Linked DNA regions of Homo sapiens: region 2 is linked to region 1. Evidence: promoter capture Hi-C in 16 types of primary human blood cells and fetal thymus (Javierre and others, 2016). All regions are on one chromosome and are shown on one strand. Each heading gives the region's core, a stretch centred on a gene start or on the middle of the fragment in contact. The rest is flanking DNA. Distances are from core to core; before and after follow the strand shown.

Region 1 (3,705 bases), core at 872-3,371:
AGTTCAAAAGGGCCAAAGCCAGATTTAAACACAGATTGTCTAATTTCAGGGTCTACATTCTTAGCCACAACAGTCCACTTCTGAGAGTCCCATTAGGGCTAGAAATACACATTTCTGAATAATGCCATGTGTATTAACTGAATATGTTTACAAATTTGAGAATTCTTCAGGATATTAAGCAATATCTTTTCATTGACATGTCAAAATTGTAAATAACAGGAAGTAAATCAATGCCTATATACTTCTATTTAAATAAAAGTGATTAAACTTACAAAATTCACTTATATTACATTTGATAAAACTGTAATTTTAAAACCAGGTAGGCATCTTGGTCAAAAATAAAAACAAAACTACTTGGTCTTTTGCCCAATCTACAAAATAATTACTTGAAAATGTACTTTAGCAAAATGATCATGAAATGCAAGATTGAATTGGAATCTAGAATCTAAAGGTCTTGATTTTCTTTCCACTGTTTTCATCATTACACAATGTGTTTGTGGGAACTGGAATCATATGGAAATTGCTGTTGCTGCACAATCCAATATTAGCGCAATAATAGCCTTCACTTACTGAGTACTGTACACAACACACTGTGCTAAAATGGCCAGTAGGGATCAGAAGAGGGAATCAGACAGGTAATTAAAGTAACTCACCAGAGGCCAAAAATCTTGGCCAGAATCAGAATTCAAACCCACATCTATAGGACTGCAAAGCTTTTGCTCTTTCCTTCAAGTCTACTATGTAATTTTATGTTTATCACTGTTAGTATCTAATTTAAGTTGAAACTAGTAATCAGACTCATTATGTCGAGCTGATGATTATTAAAATACAGCACCATATGTTTATAGTGAGAGTGTTCTTACGACATGGTCATTTCCAAGACTACTACTCCTGCACCCTCCCCACCTCCGCAACCACCATACAGAGAGAGGCTGTGAGAAGCGTGGCTTTCACCTTGGAACAAGTGCCCAGGGACCAGGGGCAAAGCAGTCAGTGTTTCTCTCCTACTGATGTTATGGAACTGGTAACATAGGAAGGTCAGGAAGAGTCCTGTAGTCTTGAGCCAGGCCAAAAGGCTCAAGGGCTCCACCCCATGCCCTCTGTTACTCTAAGAGAAAATGGGTCCCTTGGATCCAGGCTTCAGATGACCAGACTCACACCGGAGCATCACTACAAATGTCTGCTTCAGCTTACTGTTCCCCAGAATGAGAATAAATGAGTGGCCAGCAGGATAAAACATTGTCATTACTTCGCCAATCATCTTAGCCATCTTGGTTTTTGGTAGGAAATTACCAAATGATGCAATTAAGAAAGCAAGAAAGTAAAGTAAGAAGAGAAAGAAGAAGGAAAGGATGATTCTGATGGCCCTCTTGTGGGCCTCAGTGGTTGGATCTCTGGAGCTTGTCCCATTTTGCAGCATCTGCCGTGTGTGCCTCCCCAGGGAGAAGATGAGCAAAGAGTAGGAGGCCAGGGACACAATTAAGGGAGGCAGGTACCACAGAGTCCCAAGAACATGGATCAGATAATACTCACTCCTCTTCTTTCTGAAGTGTTCAGTCACATTCCTGGTGGCCTCAATTCCCCTAAAGACAGAATAGAGCTTAAACTCATTGATCAGAGATGCGGTACTACCACAGGATAAGAGCAGTGCACCCAACAGCATCCATACCATCACCCTAGAAACTCTCCACTTGAGCCAGAGGAATGTGGGGTGAGAGAAACTGGCGATTTTCAGGCAGTAGAGGACACCAAGACAGGTGGCAAGCCAAATGCTCAGATGGTTTGTAAATGTCCAGGAAACATCAATAATTTGCATTATTATCCCTGAATCATGTGTGTTGGGAGAGAATTCTATTAAAAAACTATCAGTCAAGATAATACACAGCAGAATGATCCTCAAGAGTGCCAGGGTGGTGATGATGAAGTCAGACAAAGACATTCTCTTGGTCTTGAACCAGCTGCTACCATTGACCAACTCAATGAAACAATTGACCAGAATTCCCAGTGTGAACTGAGTGCCAGACAGAATCAGGAACACCCCCTCGGTGAGTCCCATCATGTCAGCAATTAGGCAGCCCTGATCTTTGTTCTTTCTGTTGATACATAGAATCTCCTCACTGATGTGATATTTTTCTCGTTAATCTACTCCTCTACCTGTTGCTTCACTGTACCTGTCTCTTGTCTCTGCCCAATTTAGTCTGTCGTAGAGCACAATTTAGGAAATCCTCTCTGGCTCTTTCAGGTTAGTCTGTCCTCTTCACAGATGATATGGATTGTCATATTCCATCAATGAACCTAAACTTTGCAGCTCTTTGCTAAAATGCAAATGAGTAGTGTCCAGTGTCACATAGAGAAGGAAGAGATCTAGGTCACAAAGATGATGGAGGACTTGGACTCAGTTTCAAAGGGTGTAGGGCTCTGAGTTACCCAAAACAGAAAGATGAGCGGCACCAAATGGAGGCGGCTCAGAATTACTCAGAAGAGTAAAAAGTCTCATTCCTCAGGAGGGAGGACTCAGAGATACAGAAAAGGAATTCCACTAGGAGCCACTATCCACCTGGAGTGAGGTTTAAGTGCATAAAATTGTAAAAGTTCAGTGCCATTGATCATGGATTAGAATTAAAAGGCATGCCCCTTGGAGCCTGGCTTACATGCAGAGAGATGGCTGTAAGCTATAAGCTAGCAAGAGAAGCCTCACCAGAAAGTGGCCAAGCTTACATCCCGAACTTGGACTTGCAGTGGGAAGTCTCAGACCCACTCTGGATTGCTAGTCTGCTATAATACTGTCCAGGGAGGCATAAGAACAATACTTCTGTTCTTAACCTAAGAGCTCCTCTATTTAACAAGCGGCTATTAATTAAGGATCTTCATTCAGGACTATATGCAGAATTAAGCAGTACGTAGTTTGTATTAAAGTATGCTTATGTTGACTCTTTTTAAAGCTAATTGCTAAGGTTTGTATACTTTTTATGTCCTACTCCCTTCCCTAAATTTAATGAGACATTAGTTTAAAACCTAAAGGATTGTGGGAATAAAGAAAAGATTTTACTTCTACTTGCCGTGAAAGGTCATGTAAGAGAAAGATAAGAGTAAAGAGTTGCTCATGTATACGGAGATAAAGTCAACAATATATGAATAAGAAAGAATTAGGTTTAAGTACACAACACAAGTAAATGGCTTAGAGGAGAGGTATATTTTTGTCTCCCAAAGCAGTCCAGAGGCAAACTGTCCAGGCTGGTATGGTGGTTGCATAGTGATTGCAGATCCCAGCTTCTTCTACCTTCCATTCTGAAGACTGCCTCATGGTCCAAGATGGCAACTGGAAATCCAGCCATGAAATGTCCACATTTCAGACAAAAAAGAAAATGCTGTAGGACGAGAGTCTGGGGAAGCACACAGGATACGCCTCCCAAGAGTAACTCATATAGAAAGTTCCCTGAGAGCATCACCAAGTGACTTCTGCCTATAGCCCCTTGGCAACCCCTAACTGAAAAGAACAGGAATGCAGTACATGTGCTGTGCACCCTGTCACATCTGGGTTCTATAAATACAGAAGGGACAATAGATACTGGGTAGTGCATTAATCATGTTTATTTTCTGTATTTTATGCTTTGACACTTTTGGGCCTTGCAGACCCAGAGAGGGCATGCCCTCCCAAGGTTAGCTAATTCCTGGAGTTAGCCAACTTGCCTGAGAAAACTCCTT
Region 2 (3,705 bases), core at 433-2,932, 250 kb before region 1:
AGCAAAGCCTCTTAACAGTAAATATTTGCAACATATATGATAAGAATAAGAATCCAGAATCACATGAATGAACAAACGGGAAGACTGTACACATCAAGAAGATAAACATCTCAATATAAAATCGGGCAAGACAGAAAAATTCACAGAAAAGAACTAAATGAGAGATGTTCACCAATATTAGTATTCAGAAAAATTAGCACTGAAACCACAACAGAACACTATTTTATAATCCTCAAATGGCAAAACTTTAAAAGACTGTCAATTCCAAAGAAGATACAGAAAATGACAGTGAGATGGTAAATCGGCACAGCCACTTTGGAGATCAATTTGATAATGTCTAGTAAACTTAAGATATATATCTAAAATCACACAGATGCAAGTAAAAAAAAACTTACAAAAATATTCAGAATGGGACTGATGTAACTTCAATATATTGAAGAAAAACTTTTTTTACTGTAGAATGATTTTGATTTATTTTTGCCATAAAATTGACATAATTTTATACAATTGTGTACCAGTTTTATAGCAAAATAAATGAACTAGAGATATCTATCAACATAGTTAAATCTCACAATGTTAAGCGCATAAACAAAAATGCATTTTGTTTATAGGCTGTATATATCTATTATTTACAAGTATATATAGAGGTAGTAAAGGTTGAAAGGAATGCATGGTAAATATCAATTTCAAAAGTGTGGTTACTTCTAAAGAGGATGGAGGAAAAGGTAATAATACAGAAGGGATATGCGTGGGGGACTTCATCTCTGCTGATAATATTTTATTTCTTAAGCTGGATAATGGTTATATATTTTTGTATATCTTAAATATTTATGAATAATTATTTCAAAGAAGTTAACGCTATATAGAAAAAATCAAAACCATTGTGAAAATAAATAATAGAAAATAATATAGAACTGCCTATTTTCTCAACTCCCTATCTTTTATCAAGTCCCAAACGTGTCATTATTTTTCAAGCTTTCATATACTGGATTACCAAGAAGACTATAATAATCATGCCTAACAATATAAAAACAGAGACTGAAAACATTCCATATTTTGCCAAAGTCCCTTCCAACATAACGACCTACAGAACTGCTGAAAAATGTACAACTTTGCACATTGTGTCAAACACATTTTACTATATTCTCAAACTATGGTCCCTGTCAGAATCACCTGGAAAATTCAGGAAAAGTATAAAAGCTCAGGCCTTATCCTCCTTCACTGAAGCTGGAGTGCTAAGGATTTTATTAGCTCTCTACGTGATGCTAATACAGAACAATGTTGGAAAACTGCTGCTCTAGACCAATGGTTATTAATCTTAGCTGCACATTTGGATCACCTGGCAAATTACAAAAATAAGCAGGCCTGGGATCCACTCCTTAAGAATTAAATCAGAATTTCTGGGACAGAGCCTAGGAAATAGAGAAAAAGAGAAGCAAACAGAAAGTAGTAAAATGAAAACCACTAAATGATAATCCATGATTCCTACTGTTACAGGAAAACAGAGAAGCCCCAGGTGCTTGTGGGCTGACCAGTGTAATGGGTAGAGAGAAGAACCAGAAAAAACCTAAAGGAATCTGTCACAGACTTTCTCTCCTAACACATTTTCTGTAGTAAGCATGTGGGCCTTTTAGTTTTAAAAATACTTTCTCACATATTTTTGTATAAAAAAGAGAAATTGCCACCCTATTCTCAAAAGCCTATTCTAAAGGTGAAATCAATTATCAACTAGAAACTTTCTCGAAAGTAATTCCCTATGTCTTTCCACAATATGGGGTGAAAATAATTTACTGATAAGATTACAGGCGCCTTGAAATGCATAAACCATTAGGGCATTAGGAAACAGCAGATCTAAGATTTAAAAAAAAAGAAAATCAAAACTTCAGCAACTACAGCATTCAGGAAAGAAAGAGGGCAAAGTTGCAAGGACAAATGCAAGCTGGTTAAAAGGACATGATCCCAGACTGAGGCAGAGTCAGCTTGAGTGAGTCAGTGGCATCAACCATTTCCTGCCACTGGAGGGAACAGGAGGAGCTCCTCACAATTCGCATTAGACCTCAGTCACTCAACTCTGCCACCCACCCTATTCCCAGTGCTGACTCCTCTAACCTGTGCCACCCCATCCTGCTCTGATCTGTATTGTCCAGGTCACCACAGCCTTCACCATTAACAGCAGCCTTTATGCTACTCTGAAAAAAAAAATAAGCATTCCTCTGCAGTTGTTTAAAATGGCCATCAAGTTCTCTTAACACACTTTGTGTCAAGAGGTGGAGTCTGTCGCTGTTCCTGTTGAAGCTGGGCCGCCCTGAGACTGATCTGATCAACAAAATGCATCAAAAGTGATACTATGCTGGTTTAGGTGTGGTATTTAAGAGAACTGGAAGCTTTTGCCTCTGTCTCTTGCAGCACTGAGCCACCATGTAAGAAGTTCAGCTACCCTGCTGGAGAGAGTACCAAGAGAGACTCCGTGACTACATGGAGGGGAAGAGGGTGCAGTCAGTCTTACCACCATTTTCACCAAGGTACCAGGTATGTGAGTAAAGTCATCTTGAAACCTCCAGACAAGATCAGCCACCAACTAAATACCACCATATCATGTAATCCCAGTAAATGCTATGTGGAACAGAACCATTCAGCCAAACCCTGGCAGAATCTCTGACTTACAAAATCACTACATATAATAAAACAATTGTTGCTGCAAACCACTAAGTTTGGATAGTTTGTAATTCAGTAGACAAATGGAGAAGCTTGCCCTAAGAAAACAGAAGTCTAAGAAAATAGAAGACTTAGAGCAATTTCAGTTAGACTGGTGCTTTGGCTGGAATGTGCCCCCTCCAAAATTCACGTGTTGCCAGTATGTTAGTATTAACAGTGGGGCCTTTAAGAGGTGATTAGGCCATGAAGCCTCCTCCCAGACAAAGGGAATTAGGTGCCCTTATAAAGGAGACAGTGGGCTGTCTCTTGCTGTCTACGTGCTGCCATGTGAGGATGCAGCAAGAAGGTCCTCACAAGATGCCAGCACCTTGGTCTTGTTCTTTCTAGTCTCCATCCATAACTATGATAAGTAAATTTCTGTGTTTGATAAATTACTCAGTCTTGGGCATTATGTTATAGCAGCACAAAAGAACCTGATGTTGTGAACAAAAAAGGTGGAACCAGAAAGTCTCCACATGAAGAAAATGAGTAGAATGAGACAAAGTATCCCATCTTCAAATAGAGCAGGAATTTTAGAAGTTGAAAGCACTTGATGATAAAGGAATTTCAAATCACCCTCTATTCATCAAAATGTTCTCTAGCTGTTTTTATGTGCAGCAAGTTTGAACTAACGAATGAATAAAATTAGTCTCGACTCTGTGAAATATCTTAAATGTAGGCTATTTTATAATATGTGCATCTTGAGTCAGGTTTTGAAATTTAGCTTGTTAGGCTGGCCACTTCATTTAACCTCAAAGTGAAGTCTAACAGCAAAGACTTTTTAAAACAAAGTTGCCACCTCTGCCATTCCCATAATCCAGTCTTTCTAGTCCCCCAAATCAGACTGTGGTGAATATTCAGAGAAACATTTGCCAGAACCTTAGAGATCACTATTCTAAAATATTTTGAGGTTAGTATAGTGTTCAATAGTCATTTAATCGAACGTTTAATGAGTATGTTTAGCTGAACACATACTGTCTCATTTTACTTAGAAGGATTTCACAGTTTATA

The links. The method cuts DNA at HindIII sites, captures the fragments that hold promoters and counts their contacts. A CHiCAGO score of 5 or more calls a contact.
Region 2: a contact is called between a fragment that was not itself captured here and the fragment with the promoter of TAS2R3 in region 1, in 1 of 17 cell types (monocytes). The highest score is 5.1, in monocytes.

What each region holds. Positions count from the first base shown.
Region 1 is chr7:141,762,513-141,766,217 of GRCh38, reverse strand. TAS2R3 (taste 2 receptor member 3) reads right to left here and starts at 2,121. Exons shown (of 1, transcript NM_016943.2): 1 at 1,021-2,121. The coding sequence starts at 2,059. The coding sequence ends at 1,109. The HindIII fragment of the contact is 2,000 bases long and covers 716-2,715 here.
Region 2 is chr7:142,011,624-142,015,328 of GRCh38, reverse strand. All of the region lies in intron 3 of MGAM (maltase-glucoamylase), which reads right to left. Among named protein-coding and RNA genes, the nearest start is that of MGAM, 18 kb to the right of the region's middle. The HindIII fragment of the contact is 1,409 bases long and covers 978-2,386 here.